Regions from separate parts of the Homo sapiens genome. Here regions 1 and 2 are each linked to region 3. Evidence: promoter capture Hi-C in human tissues and cell types (Jung and others, 2019). All regions are on one chromosome and are shown on one strand. Each heading gives the region's core, a stretch centred on a gene start or on the middle of the fragment in contact. The rest is flanking DNA. Distances are from core to core; before and after follow the strand shown.

Region 1 (2,700 bases), core at 91-2,590, 390 kb after region 3:
GAAAAATAAGCCCCATTCAGGTCTACACAATTAGAAATTTCCATTCAGATGCCAGTGTTAGCAGCCTTGGGCCATGGCTTAACTGGACAGCTTCCGGGGGCGAAGGACTGGGTTTCCTGCCCTTCAGCCACCTCTTGGCCACACAATGGTGCCTTTCTTCCTCTCTGCTTCTGATTCTAACAGGAAAACCTCCTCCTTTCTCACTGAACCTTAATGTGTATCCTTAATGTTTGCTGTGGTTGGCTTGGTAAGCTAAAAGAGGGTTCAGAACCAGAAAAGAAACCATTCCCTTCCTGACCACTTTTTACAATCTGTATCTCACCCCCAACATATGCAAACATACAACACACACACACTCACACCCAAACACCAATCACCCTCCTCTGCTTTGGTTTTCTACTTAACATACAACATATTTTAAAATTTATCTTGTCCCCCATAAGAATGTGAGCTCCATTAGGGCAAGGCTGTTGCCTACTTCCTTTAATGCTGTACCCCCAGTGGCTAGAATGGTGTGTTGGGAACACAGAGGATGCATAATAAATATCTGAATTTAAAAAATAATAATAATAAGTTGAGACAATATAGAGTTTTCTGAACTTGGCTGTGCTCCAGGAGGCATGGAGATGGATTTCAAGCCCTTCTCTTTATTTTGCATTAGCCCCCTCCTCCTTTCTGAGAGGAACCCAAAATACTGTAAGTTAACCAGTTTCACTGCACTAACCTGTTCCTAAGAAAAGCTCAGTCATTCCTTTCCACCAATTGAGCAGCACTGCCAAAAAGATTAGCTTTCCCCCCAAAATGTTCTGTTACTCTCATTCCTCATAAAGCTTTTAAAAACATGTTCCATACTATAATGCACAAGTTTATTCAAAATCTTGTGCAATAATATTTGTAGTAGAAAAACACTAGGGAAAAAAGCCTAAATGACCATCCAAAGGAGACTGGTTGAATACATTTTTATACTCACTCCCATGGATGAGTACCATGAGACCATAAAAAAGAATGAGAAAACATTTGTTATAGTCCAAAACTAGAAAGAACTCAGAAGAGATTAAATATTTGTAGCCTATTCCGATTTTGGAATACTATACAGCAACAGGAATAAATAAACTAGAACTGCATGCACCCACGTGAATGAATCTCTCACACTTTATGTGACACAAAGAAGCCAGACACAAAAGAACACATGTGGTATGATTCCATGTAGATAAAATACAAAAACAGGCACAGCTAATCTACAACATAAAAGTCAGGAGAATGGCTACCCTGGAGTGCAGGAGAGTTGAAGGTGGCTTCTGGTCATCTTATTTCTTAACCTGGATGCTGGTTATTCAGATATATTCATTTTCTAAACATTCACCAAGCTTTTTGCTTACATGTACACATTTTAATGTTATATGTCAACAAAATTTACCTTCCCCAAAAATAAGGTGAGCAAAACCCATGAATTGACTTCCAAGACATATTATGCTACTTAATAAAGGGAAATTGATATGCACTCACATATTTTTACAAAAAAAAAAACATAGGAAGAGTAAACCAGAAACTAATAAAAATGAAGGGGTAGGACTGAGGCCTGAGTACACCTTTTATATTTTGGACATTTACGTATTAAAAAAATTATCTAGCTGGGCATGGTGGCACACACCTATGGTCCCAGCTGCTTGGGAGGCTGAAGTAGGAGGCTGGCTTGAGCCCAGGAGTTTAAGTCCAGCCAGAGCAACATAGTGAGAATTCATCTCAAGAAAAAAAAAAAAAAAATATATACATATATATATATATATATATATATATATATGAAAAATGGGCAAACCCTAAAACTAAATACAAACACAAACAAATAATTCTAATAATACATTGTACTGAAAACACAACCAACGGAAAAGTACTCCGATACATTCTTTGAGAGATATACTGTAAGGACAAAAAGAACCGTAAAGAATCTGGAACTCTGTTTAGCAGGTCTGTTGATTACAGTCATATTTGGGTCATAATCATGACATGGAAATCAATGGATGCTAAAACCCTCAGGTGAAAGGGTTGTTGAAGAGGATAGTCAAAACACATATTCAATGCACCACCCCACAAATTACATGTTGATCACAACTGACATTTGTAATTTTGCTGCATAAGAGGAAGATCTAGCAGGTCATCCCTTTACCAAATGTCTCAACTCAGCAACCCCAATATTAGAACAACCTACAGTTCCAGGCTCCTAATGCAATGTAAGATATTTACTTCCTATATAATATTCTTGCTAATCTACTGAAGAGAAAACAAGAAGATAAATCTAGAATATCCCTTAAGAGTTGGGATCTCACTCTGTCACCCAGGTTGGAGTGCAGTGGCATGAACATGGCTCACTGAAGCCTCCAACTCCTGGGCTCAAGTGATCCTCCCAACTCAGCCTCAGGAGGAGCTGGGACCACAGCGGAATGCCCCCACACACAGAGCTAACATTTATATTTTTTTAGAGATGAGGTCTCCAAATACACACACACACACACACACACACACACACACACACACACACACACACACTTTAGATTCTTCAGGCTGAAAGAACATAGGATATTCTACAAAATAACTGATCTGGACCAAAAAAAAGCAGGGGCTATTCTAGATTAGAGACATAACTAAACGCAATACATGAACTTTGACTAAATTCTGAATAGAAAAATCAGAGTGCTAAAATAG
Region 2 (2,796 bases), core at 171-2,670, 420 kb after region 3:
CAACCAAGTTGATTTAATGGTTTAAAAATATTGTTCAACAGAACAAAGGTGGTAACATTTGTTAGATCCTAATTAAACGTGATTCATTCTGGAATGTTTCTGATGACACAGCTTACATAAATAATCTACTGGGAAGTCTACTCAAAATTCACAATGAAGAGTCGGTTTTTCACACATATAATACAACCTGAAACTATAGCTTCAATCTATGCAGATGGTTTTACTATTTTAATTATACAACTAATTAATACCAAAATTAGATCGATGTTGTTTAATTTGTGGCTACTGAGGAATGTTACTATTCACAAATCACAAAATCTGTGCCAAAATAAGTCTTCAAAGGGATATTGTTGCCTCCTTACCCTTCTAAGCTTTGCAGTGGGCTTTGGTCAAAGCTGACATAAACAGCTAAAGAAATTAACAACAGAGTCTCAGAAGACAAGGCCAGGGGAGCCAAAAGGACACAGGTGCTACACACCCAGGCAGTTGTTGTCTGCTCCCAGAGCACCTGACTTCAGCAGCCACAGCACCTGCTCCTCAAGCGCAGCGGCGCCTTTGAGGGAGCACAGCCTGGAAGGTTTACCCTTCGCAGAGACGCTTGCTCTTGGACTTCTGGCTGTACATTCTGAGGGTTCAAATGAAGGATGGGACAATGGGAAAGCTTAAATCCTCTGGAAACGTCACTGTGATCAATGGCTTCAACCCTCCTCTACCTCATACCAGTTCACTGGAGCTGCTAACACTAAGTTTCCTTCTTTATCCGCCCATCTCTATTCCAGTGGAGCCCCGTGATTAAGGGATGGCAGAGGAAGGGGACATGTCCTTTTTTTTTTTTTTTTAACAGAAAAACACTCATTTAGATACCTGGTTTAGTAAGACATCTGAACAACATGAAACCCAACTATGTAAAAGCTTTAAAAATCCAGGTTATGAATTAGCCTAAACCTGTGCTTATGTTCCATTCTGTTTAGAGGAAGGGGGATGGAATCCCTTTCACCTTTATATTTTTCATGACAAGTCCATGGTCACATCAAAAATTACTTTTGTCTTTAACACAGTTGAAATTATTAAATGTTATCTAGACCTAACCAAATCCTATTTCCTTAATGTTATATTCAGGACAGTGAAAAAAATACTGTTTTCTTTTAGCAAAGTCTGACTTTTAAGGCTCAGTTTTTACCTGATTAAATAAACTGCCCCTGCTTTTGAGGTTAGAAAAATTACTTTTGTTCATGGGGTCCATTATACTGTACTATTAAGTTTACTTTTATATGTTTGGAAATTTCCAGCCGGGCGCGGTGGCTCATGCCTATAATCCCAGCTACTCGAGAGGCAGAGGCAGGCAGATTACCTGAAGTCAGGAGTTCAAGACCAGCCTGGCCAACATGGCGAAACCCCATCTCTAGTAAAAACTACAAAAATTAGCCGGGCATGGTGGCACGCACCTGTAATCCCAGATACTCGGGAGGCTGAGGTGGGAGAATTGCTTGAACCTGGAAAGTGGAGGTTGCAGTGAGCCGAGACGGTGGCACCACACTCCGGCCTGGGGGACAGAGCAAAACTCCATCTCAAAAAAATAAAAAAAGAAAAAAGAAAATTTCCATAATAAAATGAAACTCTTAAGGAAAAAACTGCTTTGAACATAAAGCCAACCCAAAAAGTAGCTCTTACCTAAAGTGAATTTTCCCTAGTGCCAAATGAAATTCAAATAAATCCCAATCTTCTAATTCACACAAATCTTAAGATTTCTAATACTTTAAACCAGAATGAAAAAGTCAGGTATGCCAAATTAACAATCGAAGAGAAAATTAATCCCACACCAAAGCCAAAACATTGAACTTCCTCCCACTCTCGCATTCACACACACACACAAGCATGAACCACACAATGAAGGATTCCAGTTGCCCCATCCAGACAACTGGACGCACATCACACACCTCCTAGTCATCCAGGGACCATCTTGGCAGCCTGTTTCTCATCACTACCTGCCACCCTGTGCCTGTGTTGTGGACGAGGAAGGCACGGGTAGTAGCCTAGCTTTTTATTTTTTTAAATCTCAGCAATAGAGGCAAGGTTATTTCTACCTTACATCCAAGAGTATGGAGCACAAGACTAGCTGTTTATTAATAACATGCTTATTTTCCACACCAACCACACGGTTTTCCAATTTCACAAAGTAAATACTTCCTCATCCCTCTTTAGAAAAGATGAAACAATTTATCGTAGCCTAAGCAAAAACCACCTATCAAAGCAAAGACTGGCAAGCAGATTCAAGACATAAAGGTATAGCTTTTACTATAAATTTGAAACCAACAAGAAAGCCATTAACCTAAATATTTTTCTAATCAAAAATCAGAAATGACGTTAATAGCAACATATAAGAATTACTGTATCTACCACACTTAGAATGTACTGGGGTAGATGACAATGACAATCAGTACTGATTGCCTTATGTTTATCAACTTTTTCATCTACATTTCAGGTTTCAGTGCAAGACAAACCATTAATACATTCATGACTAGCCATTTCAAAGCATTATTGTATACATACTGTACGACACAAAGTGCTTAATTGTAACTTAAAAGGTTAAAACCCATCTTGAATCCTAAATGGGCAAAAAAAAAAAAAAAAAAAAAACCCCACTAGTCATTTGCCCACAAACCAGGCCCCATATAACCATCAAGCATCTGACTGCATCGGACATGATTAATCTGAAACTGTGCTATGAATCATACAGCAGTCCTCCCTTATCTTCAAGGGATACGTTCTGAAATTCCCCAGTGGGTGCCTGAAACT
Region 3 (2,855 bases), core at 221-2,720:
CACTGGTCCTGTAAGAGGAAGAGGAAGCCCCTTTAAGGGAGCTTCTCAACCCAACTCATACACATGGTGTGGGCTGGGGCTAAGGAAAGAGTGGGTGACTCAGAGTCCTCAGCAAAGGGATTTTTGAGACTGTCTTCACTGAGTTCTAAAATATTCATAATTGGAAACTGTGACTACATTTGGCATTATATGAGGGGCAGCTTTTTTCCTCATCTGAAAAAGGAGTCTCTTTTCTTCCCCCTGGGAATATCTCTGGTGAGTCCCCTCCCTCATCTTATCAAACCCAGCCCTCCTGGCGCAGGCTCAGTATTTAGAGTTTGTTTGTTTATTTTCAATTCTCCGAGGGGAAAATTCCTTCTTCCCCTTGTTGAAAAATGCTAAAATAGAAACTCCAGAAAATTTAAAAGAAACGGAAGAAAAGAAAAAAAGATGTTAAAAAAAAGGCAAGGGAAGGAAGGGAGGAGTAGACATGAACAGGAAATGCTGGGATCGAAAACAGACTGAAGTGTTTTTTTTTGGTGGGGGGAATCAAGGCCTAAAGGGCACGAAGAAGAAAATCAGTGATGATCAAGCTGGCCTGGAGTCAGAATGAGAGGGGCTAGTCATCACCAGAGTGGGACGCAGGAGGCTGAGGTCGGAGGCAGAGCTGGGTTTGGGGGAAGTCTCCAGGGTCCTGGGGAATCCCTGACCCAGGGAGCCCACGGTCCCTAATGGAAATGTTATGGGGTCAGGGAGCGCCAAGGCTGTGAGGTGGCGGGGTTATGGGGGCCTTGGGGAGAGGGTGGTAGCGAGCACCAGGGGGTGCTTGCTGAGGACGGAGGCGGCGGGGTGGGGGCAGGGAGCAGGCTGAAGGGGGTGCCGAGGTGCTCTGTAGAAGAGGGGGATTGATAAGGTGACAGGAGGTGAGGCCGGAGGAATGAGGGGGGTGCGAGTGGCAGAAGGGAGGGCACAGACAGGGGTAGGGGCAGAGGAGATCGAAGTGCTGAGGGCAGAAGCGGTGACGGTGTCGGGGGTGCTGGGGAGAGCGACGGGCCAGCTGAGGGGATGGGGACACTAAAGAGAGTACAGGGGAGCCGAAGGGGCGACGGGGCGCTGAGATGGGCCAGGGGCTGAGTGGGTGACGGGGCGCTGAGTAGGCGATGGAGGTCTGGGGTCTGAGGGGGAGACGGGGCGCTGAGAGGCGCTCTGAGTGGGTGCTGATGCCGCTGGGGGCCAAAGAGGTGACAAGGCTCTGAGTGGGTGATGGGGGTCTGGGGATTGAGGGGGCGACGGGGCGCTGAGGGGCCAGGGGCTCTGAGCGGGTGACGGGTGCGTTGGGGGCTTGAGAGGGTGACAGGTCTTACGGGCAGAGGCAGTGGCGGGTCGGCGCGGGCGCCGGGGTTCGCGGCGAGGCAAGGAAGAATCAGGGGCAGGGGCAGTTGCGGGGCCACTCACCCGGCTCCGGCGCGTCCTTTCACTGCCGCCGGCGAGTGCTGGGGCTTCGGCCCAGGCAGGTCGGTGGCCCCGCCCGGCGCCGCGCACTTTCGGTTTCCGTTCCCCGCAGACCCTGGGCGGAGCCGGGCGGGCGGCCCAGAGGAGGAGAAGGAGGAGGCGGGGGCCCAGGGTGGAGAGCACGAGGGCCTGGCCCAGGCACGGCCGGCGCCTCCGCCCTCGAGGAGGGCGTCACCTCAGCTCCCCCCGGCGGCGGAGCCGGCGGGCTCAGGCGGGCGCGGCTGAGGGGAGCGGACCGCGGGGGGCGGGAGATGACTGCGCCCAAGGCCTTTGCGGGCCTCAGCCGGCCCCAGAGGAAGGGGAACCCGTCGAGCGGTTTGGTGCGTGTGAAGCGCGACATGGCGAGGAAGCGGACAAGCCCGGGTGGCCCGGCGTGTAGAGGGAAGGGGGCGGGGCTAGACGCGGCCTGGACAACTACTAGAGCGCCTCGGGCTGTGCTGCTCGAGACTACATTTCCCAGAGCGACGCGCGCGGAGCGGGCGGGAAAGAGAGCGTTTCGGGTCCAGTGCGCAGGTGCGAAAGCCATCTTTGGTTATATAAGGGAGGTTCAGGAAGCCATTCGTTCTTTCGCGTCTGCGGTGCCCGGAGTGTGGTACTTCTCCTAGTTGCAGTCAGGCTTCATACGCTATTGTCCTGCCCGTAAGTTCCCGTTTTGTGTGTGGTGAGTGGAAACTCCATGTTCTTCGTTGGAGACCTCTGGTCCTCCCTTCCCTTCTTTGTGCCGTCGTCTCTGCGGCCAGCCCTAATCTCCTTCTCGTGGCTTCTCCGTCTCTGACCCCAAATAGGCCTTAAGGGCGTGGGAGAAATGAGTTTCTGGAGCTGGAAAAGCCACTGCCTTCTGCACGGGCCTGAGAAGCCCTTGGCTGGTGTAAATGATGACTTCACTTTTTTCCCCATCAGATCGACAATGCTGACGTCTTATATTTTGCCAGTTAGTTCTGATACATCGGCCTCAAAAGGCCCGGCCTTGTTCGTTTCTGACCGTGGGAAGATGGCGGTTAACGCCCTTTATTTGTTGGTTCACAGGTTAGAGCAGCCAGCGGGTACAGAATGGATTTTGGAAGAGGGAGTCACCACTGGACCTCCAAGGAAGCCACGTGCAGACATCTACAACCTTCGATCTCCTGACGAGTAAGTCTTTGTCTCCTATGGGTCTACTGTAGAAAACACGTGCTTTGAGAAGCTTTAGTTTTCTAGGAAAACGTGGGATTTAACAAAGCACTTTCTATCGAGCATTTATTAGGTATTTAAAAAAGTGTTCTGACGGCCGGGCGCTGTGGCTGACGCCTGTAACCCCAGCACTTGGGGAGGCCAAGGCAGATGGGTCACCTGAGGTCAAGATTTGGAGACCAGCCTGGCCAACA

Evidence for each region. The method cuts DNA at HindIII sites, captures the fragments that hold promoters and counts their contacts. A contact is called where the count stands out against the background at its distance.
Region 1: a fragment that was not itself captured here is called in contact with the fragment with the promoter of ZNFX1 in region 3 in 1 of the 25 tissues and cell types used here (hippocampus).
Region 2: a contact is called between a fragment that was not itself captured here and the fragment with the promoter of ZNFX1 in region 3, in 2 of the 25 tissues and cell types used here (aorta and dorsolateral prefrontal cortex).

Annotation. Positions count from the first base shown.
Region 1 is chr20:49,661,928-49,664,627 of GRCh38, forward strand. The region is part of intron 1 of B4GALT5 (beta-1,4-galactosyltransferase 5); the gene reads right to left. Among named protein-coding and RNA genes, the nearest start is that of B4GALT5, 51 kb to the right of the region's middle. RefSeq lists an enhancer at 5-299. The HindIII fragment of the contact is 3,209 bases long and covers 1-2,700 here.
Region 2 is chr20:49,696,753-49,699,548 of GRCh38, forward strand. All of the region lies in intron 1 of B4GALT5 (beta-1,4-galactosyltransferase 5), which reads right to left. Among named protein-coding and RNA genes, the nearest start is that of B4GALT5, 16 kb to the right of the region's middle. The HindIII fragment of the contact is 5,555 bases long and covers 1-2,796 here.
Region 3 is chr20:49,276,587-49,279,441 of GRCh38, forward strand. It overlaps ZNFX1 (zinc finger NFX1-type containing 1), which reads right to left and starts at 1,471. Exons shown (of 14, transcript NM_021035.3): 1 at 1,435-1,471. ZFAS1 (ZNFX1 antisense RNA 1) reads left to right here and starts at 1,592. Exons shown (of 4, transcript NR_036658.2): 1 at 1,592-2,130; 2 at 2,518-2,622. It overlaps SNORD12C (small nucleolar RNA, C/D box 12C), which reads left to right and starts at 2,359; the gene lies at 2,359-2,437. RefSeq lists enhancers at 646-705, 1,047-1,547, 1,548-2,048, 1,806-2,100, 1,976-2,175 and silencers at 1,246-1,475, 1,526-1,885. The HindIII fragment of the contact is 7,798 bases long and covers 1-2,855 here.